Regions from separate parts of the Homo sapiens genome. Here region 2 is linked to region 1. Evidence: promoter capture Hi-C in human tissues and cell types (Jung and others, 2019). All regions are on one chromosome and are shown on one strand. The core of a region is centred on a gene start or on the middle of the fragment in contact, and the rest is flanking DNA. Distances in the headings are between cores, read along the strand shown.

The links. The method cuts DNA at HindIII sites, captures the fragments that hold promoters and counts their contacts. A contact is called where the count stands out against the background at its distance.
Region 2: a contact is called between the fragment with the promoter of RIMS4 here and a fragment that was not itself captured in region 1, in 2 of the 25 tissues and cell types used here (H1 embryonic stem cells and dorsolateral prefrontal cortex).

What each region holds. Positions count from the first base shown.
Region 1 is chr20:44,888,788-44,892,587 of GRCh38, forward strand. All of the region lies in intron 1 of YWHAB (tyrosine 3-monooxygenase/tryptophan 5-monooxygenase activation protein beta), which reads left to right. Among named protein-coding and RNA genes, the nearest start is that of YWHAB, 5.0 kb to the left of the region's middle. The HindIII fragment of the contact is 5,673 bases long and covers 1-3,800 here.
Region 2 is chr20:44,807,784-44,812,004 of GRCh38, forward strand. It overlaps RIMS4 (regulating synaptic membrane exocytosis 4), which reads right to left and starts at 2,763. Exons shown (of 6, transcript NM_182970.4): 1 at 2,392-2,763. The coding sequence starts at 2,488. The HindIII fragment of the contact is 17,434 bases long and covers 1-4,221 here.

The DNA of each region.
Region 1 (3,800 bases), core at 904-3,403:
AGTCATCAGTTACTTTGGCATAGAATTTTAGGTTCTTCATCTAATAGAATTTGATTGTGACCATTAATTTTTGTTTATCTTACGACTTCATCAGTAGATGTTCAGATTTTTCTCATTTTGTTGGCAGGGAGGAAATGAGGAAATATATCTACGTAAATAGAGAGAAACTTCTAAATTAAAACATCCTGTTGTGCTACCTGCTCTTTCGGTGTCAACAAACTGAGTTTTCCTTTAAATGCTGGTACCTTAGAGAATGAACTAAAATTTCCTTGTAGAGATACTTTTAAGTTCCTTGTTTCTACATTTTTCTAGGGAAAGATGACAATTCACTAGTTAAGGGGCAAGAAATTATGGTTACATAATAGCAACCTTTAAGCTTTAGAATCCTTTTGATCTCTATGTGAATATGATCTTAGCAGTCATCTGTATTGCATGATGGAGAAACTAACGGTTGGAGCTGGATTCTGAGGGAATTTTTCTAAGGGGAATACTTGAGGAAACAGACTAAAAGTGCTTTCTGTCTCATGATATGTGTGCTGAAGGCCAATCATCTTACTGCTTTCTCAACTAAAAGATTTTCTAATAGAGGTGTGGTTATATGTATCTGATACTTGTAATGAGATGTAAATGATCAGTGGCCTCAAGTCATTCCTAGCAGATTGTAGGTTAGTTAACTTTTTTTTTTTTTTTAAATTCTGGCCAGTTCTTTATTATGTAAGTTTTTCCCGTACTGGTTAGTTTATTTTATTGTTTTCCCTAAAAGAACCAACAGGAGGTTATTTCTGAATGGCCTTGACCAGGACAAGAAGATTGAAGGCTACAATAAAGTAGATATGAGTCCTGTCTATTATTATTATTTGCCCTCAGCTAAGAGCTTTCCTTTAAAATTTGTTTGACATTTTGGTAAGTCTTTGGCATGTTTTTATGCTGTTTTTAACTCCTTGATTTTGTTTTTATTTTTAAAGCTAGATAACATTAGCTTAATAGGCCAGTTTTAAAATTTCACTGTAACAACCTTGTATAGTTCTTTTAAAAGTTGACAATTCTCTCTTTTCCTTAAGTGAGCATTGGAGTTCATAATTGATCTTTAGGAGATAGGGTTACATAAAGGAAAGAGCATTAATTTTAAAATTAATGTTGGTTTAGATCCCAGATCTGCCATATATAGCTGTGTGACCCTGAATGAGTTAACTCTTTGCATTTATAAAACGGGACAATGTCACCTGCCTCATAGGATACTTAGGATCAAATGCGTTTCTAGGAATCCCTGAGTGCTTTGCAGGCCATAAATGATGGATGGATATTTTTGTTATTTACTAAACGAGTTAGCTGGTTTGGGTTTCTGTATAGTGAACTTTTTGTATAGCGAACTGATTGGACTTCTGAATGGAGGAGATGGACAGAAAGTAATCCAAAGGCTTGTTGAAAGTCAGTTTGAATCTATAAATACAATGATTGGTAGCTGAAAAATATTAGTCAAAATGTATAGTGTTGCTCCTGATGAGAGCTGGCTGGCTTTTTTCAAAAAGTAGTCTAAGACAATAAAAACAGTCTGTATTTTATAGGTCAGATGTGTGCTACCTTCCTCTGTCCACGTAGGAAATAATTGCTTTTTCACTTTTTAAGAATGCATCAGTTGATCAAGCAGTCACTCAGTGTGCTAGGCCTTGTACTCCACATTGGGTGTCCAAAGATACAAGTCTGGATTCCTACTTTTTTTTTTTTTTTTTTTTTTTTTTGTGAGATGGAGTCTCACTCTGTCACCCAGGCTGGAGTGCAGTGGCACGATCTTGGCTCACTGCAACCTCTGAAGCCCGGGTTCAAGCAATTCTCCTGCCTCAGCCTCCTGAGTAGCTGGGATTACAGGCGCCTGCCACTGCGCCCAGCTAATTTTTGTATTTTTAGTAGAGACAGGGTTTCGCCATCTTGGCCAGGCTGGTCTTGAACTCCTGACCTTGCGATCCACCTGCCTCGGCCTCCCAAAGTGCTGGGATTACAGGCGTGAGCCACCACGCCTGGCTGGATTCCTACTTTAAGCTCACAATCCGGTGTGGGAGCCAGCAGAGACACTTGCATTGCAGTAAACTGTGATAAGGGCCATTTTAGAAATAAGCATAGGGAAATTGTTATGTGCCTTTCTTTTAAAAGTCTTTAAAGAAAGCAGAGTACGTGTAAAATAAATGAGGTACATAGTAAGTTTCCCTTCACTGGCTGACCATTGGTTTTTTAAGTTTTGTGTGGAATGTACTGTGGTTGCCATTTATTTGAGTGCTTACTGTTTTATATCATAAACAGGTTTACTCCTTACAGGAACCCTAGTAAGTAGATTTGCCTATGTTTTTTTTTTTCTTCACAGAGTCTTGCTCTGTCGCCTAGGCTGGAGTGCAGTGGCGTGATCTCAGCTCACTGCAGCCTCTGCCTTCAGGCTGCCTCAGCCTCCCAATTAGCTGGGATTACAGGCGCCTGCCACTATACCCGGCTAATTTTTTTATATATTTAGTAGAGACGGGGTTTCACCATGTTGGCCAGGCTGGTCTTGAACTCCTGACCTCAAGTGATCACCCTCCTCGGCCTCCCAGAGTGCTGGGATTACAGGCGTGAGCCACCACGCCCAGCCCAGATTTGCCTGTATTATGGATGAGAAAACAAATTCACAGAGGTCACATAGCCTGTGGACTTGGTGTGCGGTACTGGTAAATCAGACTGATAGGCTTCATTATGTCAGTGGGCCCCAAACTGTAGAAATTATTCATAAGGTCAACCAATTGGGCTGTCTTTATGGATCAGAATTAACATAGTGTCTTTTGGATTGATTACTTAAGCCAAGAAGTCAATTTATTGTCATATCTACCATTAAGTCACATGTGTAACCTTGCGCCTGTCACTTAACACCCTCAGTAAGTTTAATCATGGCTAATTGGACATAATTAGCAATGATATGCAACAGCTGATGTGAAAGAGGGAAGGGATTTTGAAATAATAGAAATGCAGTTTCTCTCCAAATTCAGTGTTCACTGGACTTAGTGCTAATGACTTTGTATTACAGATATGCTGTGTTTTGTTTCCTAACAAAGAACCTGCAAATGTTTGAATGGAATTAAATTTATTACAGGACTCTAAATTTTATATGTAGAATGGCACACAGACAGTTTTATAGTGGGTGTTTTTTAGTGAGTAGTTTTCTCTGAGAGCCAGGAGTGTTTAACTTTTTCTGGGTAACACCCACTAACCACCTGGTCCCACTGACTTTCTCAGTCCCTTCTGCAGTAGCTTGGCATCTGATTTTTCTTCAGCAGAGAGACTCCAGAACTAAAACTTCTGCTGTACAGTGCTGTGGATGCTCTATCTGGAATGGTACATCTGTGAATGCTGTTCAGAATATGTGATCAGTTCCTTACCCCATTGAAACATTCGAGCCTAGATTTTTCAGATTTTCTTGTCAGTTTTCTTCCTTATTCTCATTTCTTTATCTGCTTTGGCCTTTGATTTTTATCTCATCTAGAAAAACATACATGCACTTTATTAATAACATCTCTTTTTAAGTCACGACCTAGCTACCTTTAAACCTATTTCCTCTAGTTCTGTCTGGTTGGCTTTCTAAGGAGAGGCATTGTAACCCTTAAACGTGTGCTGTTTTTTTTTTTAATTGATGTGTAATAGATATACATGTGCTCTTTTCTTGTGTTTCTACCACTAGAGTTTAAGCTCTCTGAGGGGAGGACTACACTGCTTTCTTTTAAATTCCTCTCAATGAATAATCCAAAGAGTTCTTAGAAATTTGGTAGTTTTTCATTTTGTTA
Region 2 (4,221 bases), core at 1,513-4,012, 80 kb before region 1:
ACATTCATTATTTTTCCGGAAATGAAAGTTGACTTTCTCCCTCCCCCTCCCAAATTTGAAGCATCCCTCAAGAACAGACAGTGAGCACAAGATGCCCAAACCAAACTCTTGGTCGCCAGCCGCACCCCCAGGCCTCCTCACCTGGGAAACATTTTCTACACAGTAAGGTCTGGATTTCTTAAAAATCCTCTTTCAGAGGGAGGGCTACTGGTTTAATGGAAAGAGAACCATAAACCTGATTTTAGTCTCAGCTCTGTGGCTGCCTCACTAGATGACCTTGGCATATATATGTGTGTGTGTATATATATATATATACACACACACCCATTCCAGGGCTTCAGTCACACACACACAAACACTCACACAAATACACACACACCCCCATCCATTTGCGGGCAAAAAGGGGATAGACAAGATGATTTCTAGGTCTCTTCCAAGTGAAATACTAAAGAATTTCAAGAAGGCTGCTGGAAAAAACAAACATGAGTGGACCTTTAAAAATATCATTAATACTACTTGAAGTTATCTGTTCTGACTTAAGTGAAACCAGAGCAAGTTGCCTGCAGCCTGCAATAACCAAGGTGTTTGACCCATGACACACAGCATGACTTTGAAGAAAAACTAAACCGCTCCTGCCTCTGATGCTCCTACAAACCCATGCTCCTGCCCAGCCTGGCTCTTGAGATCCAAGTGGACTGCTGACCACTCTACTGTGTTGGGGAGCCCCCTACTTCTTCCCACCTTGCCTTGTCCAGAATAATAATACAACCTCCCTCAGCTACATGAAGGCAGAAGTTAAACCTCTGAGCCTCAGTTGTTTTTTTCTGTAAAATGGTGATTATAAAAATGGTAAAATGTCTCTGCAGTAATCATCTTTACCCTTACCCCCATCCCCACCTCCAGGTCAATAGAAAGACAGGTCTATTGGGGATCTGCCTCACCTATCCCCATTCATTCACCAGTCAACAAATTCTTCTGGAGAAAGGGCAGGAAGACATGCCCACCACTTCATCCCATGATGGAACCTTGGTGGCCAGGTTGATCAGACAAGGGTCCCCAAAGACTAAGTCTAAACCTGGGCCCAGGAACTTCCTAAAACCGTAGGCTACATTTTGTGGATGGTGCATATATGCACTTCGGGAGAGATAGTCCATGTTTTCCTCAGAGACTTGAAAGTGCCCATGAAACCATTTTGCTCCTCAAGCACATACACTCCTCCAGCACATACACTCCTCTGTTTTGTTCCCCCATTGAATTCAAAGACTCTCGGATTTTCACCTTATAAAACACTGAACTCCACCCTCACACCATACAGAGCTTTGCATCGATACGATGATCCCCATTTCAGAGATGAGGAAATCCAGGCTCAGAGGTGGCATGACTTGCCCAAGGTCACAGCTAAGAAGTAGAGAATGAAGACTGGAACCTGATTCCGATTCCCAATCTGGCATTCTTTGGGGAACTCTCACCCAAGCCCTCTAGCTACCCCACCTGTTGGTGGATTCCCTTCCTCACCCCAGAACCAAATCCGGAGCTCTCATGTTCCTTCTGCCGGGTCCCAGGGCCCTAAAGAGTAGGTTTCCCTACAGCTCCCCACCCCTCGCTCTGGCTGAGGTTGTGCGCAGGCCTGGGAGGAGGAGGTTCAAGCCGCTGGCTGGTGGCCGGCTTCAGCCCACCAAGAAAGGCGACTCCAGGGACAAGAGCACCTGAGGTCAGGGGCACACACCAGCGGGCGGACAAGTGTAGAGTTGGCGCCGCCCTACACCTCTCTCCGGGAAGAGAGGGGAGGAAAGGCCGTCACCTGGCCGGTTCCCCTCCGTCTGCCCCAGGCGTATAAGAAGCAGGAGTCTGGAGCCCCAGCCCATGAGGGAAGGAGAGGAGAGATAAATGGGGGCGCTCAAGGCCTGGGGCGCCGGGCAGGGGTCTTGGGCAGGGATCCTCTGGATGTGGCCAAGACAAAGATGGAGAGGTAAGGTCTGCGCGCCACCTCCAATGGCGGGGGGCGCGTCGGAGCCCCAGGGGTGGGACGGCCAAAGCCCAGGGCTTGAAGAGTGGGCACATTCAGGAGACTCAGGGAGGGTGGCAGGTCGGCTCCAGGGACGAGGCAAGGGGCCTCCAATAGGCGCGGGTGAGGAGGGAGATGGGTCCTGGCGACCCAAAGGGCCCACCTGCGGGAAAGGTGAATGCAGACAATCTCGGGGTCCCTGGGGGAGAAGGCCAGAAGGTAGCGCATCCTGGAGACCCTGGGGTCCCGTGGGTGCGGAAGGAGACCCTGGGGGCGCCTTCCCAGGGGATTGGGGGTGGGGAGGAGGGCGCACGGGTCGGGGAGGGGGCTACCGGACCTGGATCCCGGGACACCCCGGGGGTCTGGGGGGCGGGCCGCGCGCTTACCTGCGTCCTCGTCGTCGAAGGAGTTCATGCACGGGAAGTAGATGGCGAGCGCCTCGAAGGAGGCGGACAGACTGAGGCGGCTCTGCGAGCGCTCCATGCCCGCGCCGGCGCCGGGCGCCTCGGCCGCGGCGGCGGCGGCGGCGGCGGGCGGCTTGGGCAGCTTGGCCGCCCCATTCTTGACGCGGAGTACGGCGCGCGGCGTGGTGGCGGCGGCCCGGGGCCGGGCCGAGGCTCCGCTGCGGGGCTGGCGGGCGCGGCGGGGCCGGCGGGCGGGCCAGGAGCTGGCGGCGCGCGGAGCCCGAGGCGCGCTGTGCTGCTGGCGGCGGCGGCGGCGGCGGCGGTGGCGGCGGCGGTGGCGGCGCAGCGCGCTCTGGTCCGCGGCGCCCCCCGCCGGCAGCGCGAGGCGGGCTTGGAGCGGCGCCGCAGCCAATCCGTGCCGCCGGGGGAGGGGGCGCCGCTGCGGGGCGTGGGAGCCCGGAGGGCGCGGGCTGCGGCCTCTTCTAGCAGCCCCCGGGCCCGGCAGGTGCGCGCGGGGAGGCAGGCGCCGGGCGAGGTTGTCTGGGCCCTGGTCCGAGGGCTGTTCCCGACCCCGCCTCGGCCCCCACCCTCAGCCGGCCGACTTGCGGAGAGGCCGGCGTCCAGTCCCTCACCCAGACAGGCCTCTCCCAGAGACACTGGCGCGCTCGGAGGGGATGCGCTCAAAGGGTCCCGCCCAGGCGGGTCGGCACTCGGCCTCCCACACAGAGACCCTCGGCTTCACACCTGCACCCACAGAGAAGCTCAAACAGGCACCCACACCTACACATTCACTCTGCAACATGCCCCGCAGACACCCGGACAGATACACCCACAGACCCACCCCCTCACAGATGCGGGGACAGACACGTCCACGGACACACGCAGACTCACGCAGAGACCTGCAAACACACTCAGGGAGGTAGGCAGGACATCCCTGGTGCCCGGCCTCCCTCACGGGGAGACTCTCAGATGCCACAAAACCCCACGAAGTTCAGGTAGGCATACACAGTCTCATGCATTCACACTTACCAAAGACACCCCAGAATTCATACACACATTCATACACTCAGATGAACACACAAGCCCAGACCCAGCACACACTCTGTGTCGCCTCCCCCTGTGATCATCTCAGCACTGTCAAACACTCTGACTGACACGGCCAGATGCACACACCTTCACCCTCAGACACACTAGAGTAGCACACACACGCCAAGACACAGCCACACAGACTCCATCCCTCCCAGTGTGGGTGCATCCCGACGGATTGACTGACACCCTCAGACTCAGGTACACTGAGACACACTTGGCAGGCTCACACTCACAGACTCTCCCATTATCACCCTCGGCGACCCGCAGTCCTCAGACACACACGGGCTCAGACACTCACAGCCCCAGGACAGAGACGAGCGAATCGGAAACCCGTGTTCCATTCCCTGCATGTGACCTGGGACGTGAGGGTCCCTGCCCACCTAATCAGGCCCCAGATGTCAAACAACCTTCTCAGCTGCTCGCACACCTCTTTATGAAGCCATCTGGCGACATGGAAACAGTTCAGGCCTCAGAAAGAGACAGCCCAGAGTTTGAATCTCAGCTGTGGTGCTGTCTTTCTGGGTGGCCTATGGCAAAACTCTTTATCCCATGGGTCCTGTTCCTCATCTGTACAATGGGGACAGGAGCCTTCCATTTTGGATGGTTGTGAACTGCCTGTAAGATAACACAGGTGTTTGTTTTCTATTGCTGCATAACAAATGAAGCAGCTTAAAAACACCAATCTAGTGATTTACAATCCTGTAGGTCAGAAGTCTGGGCAGC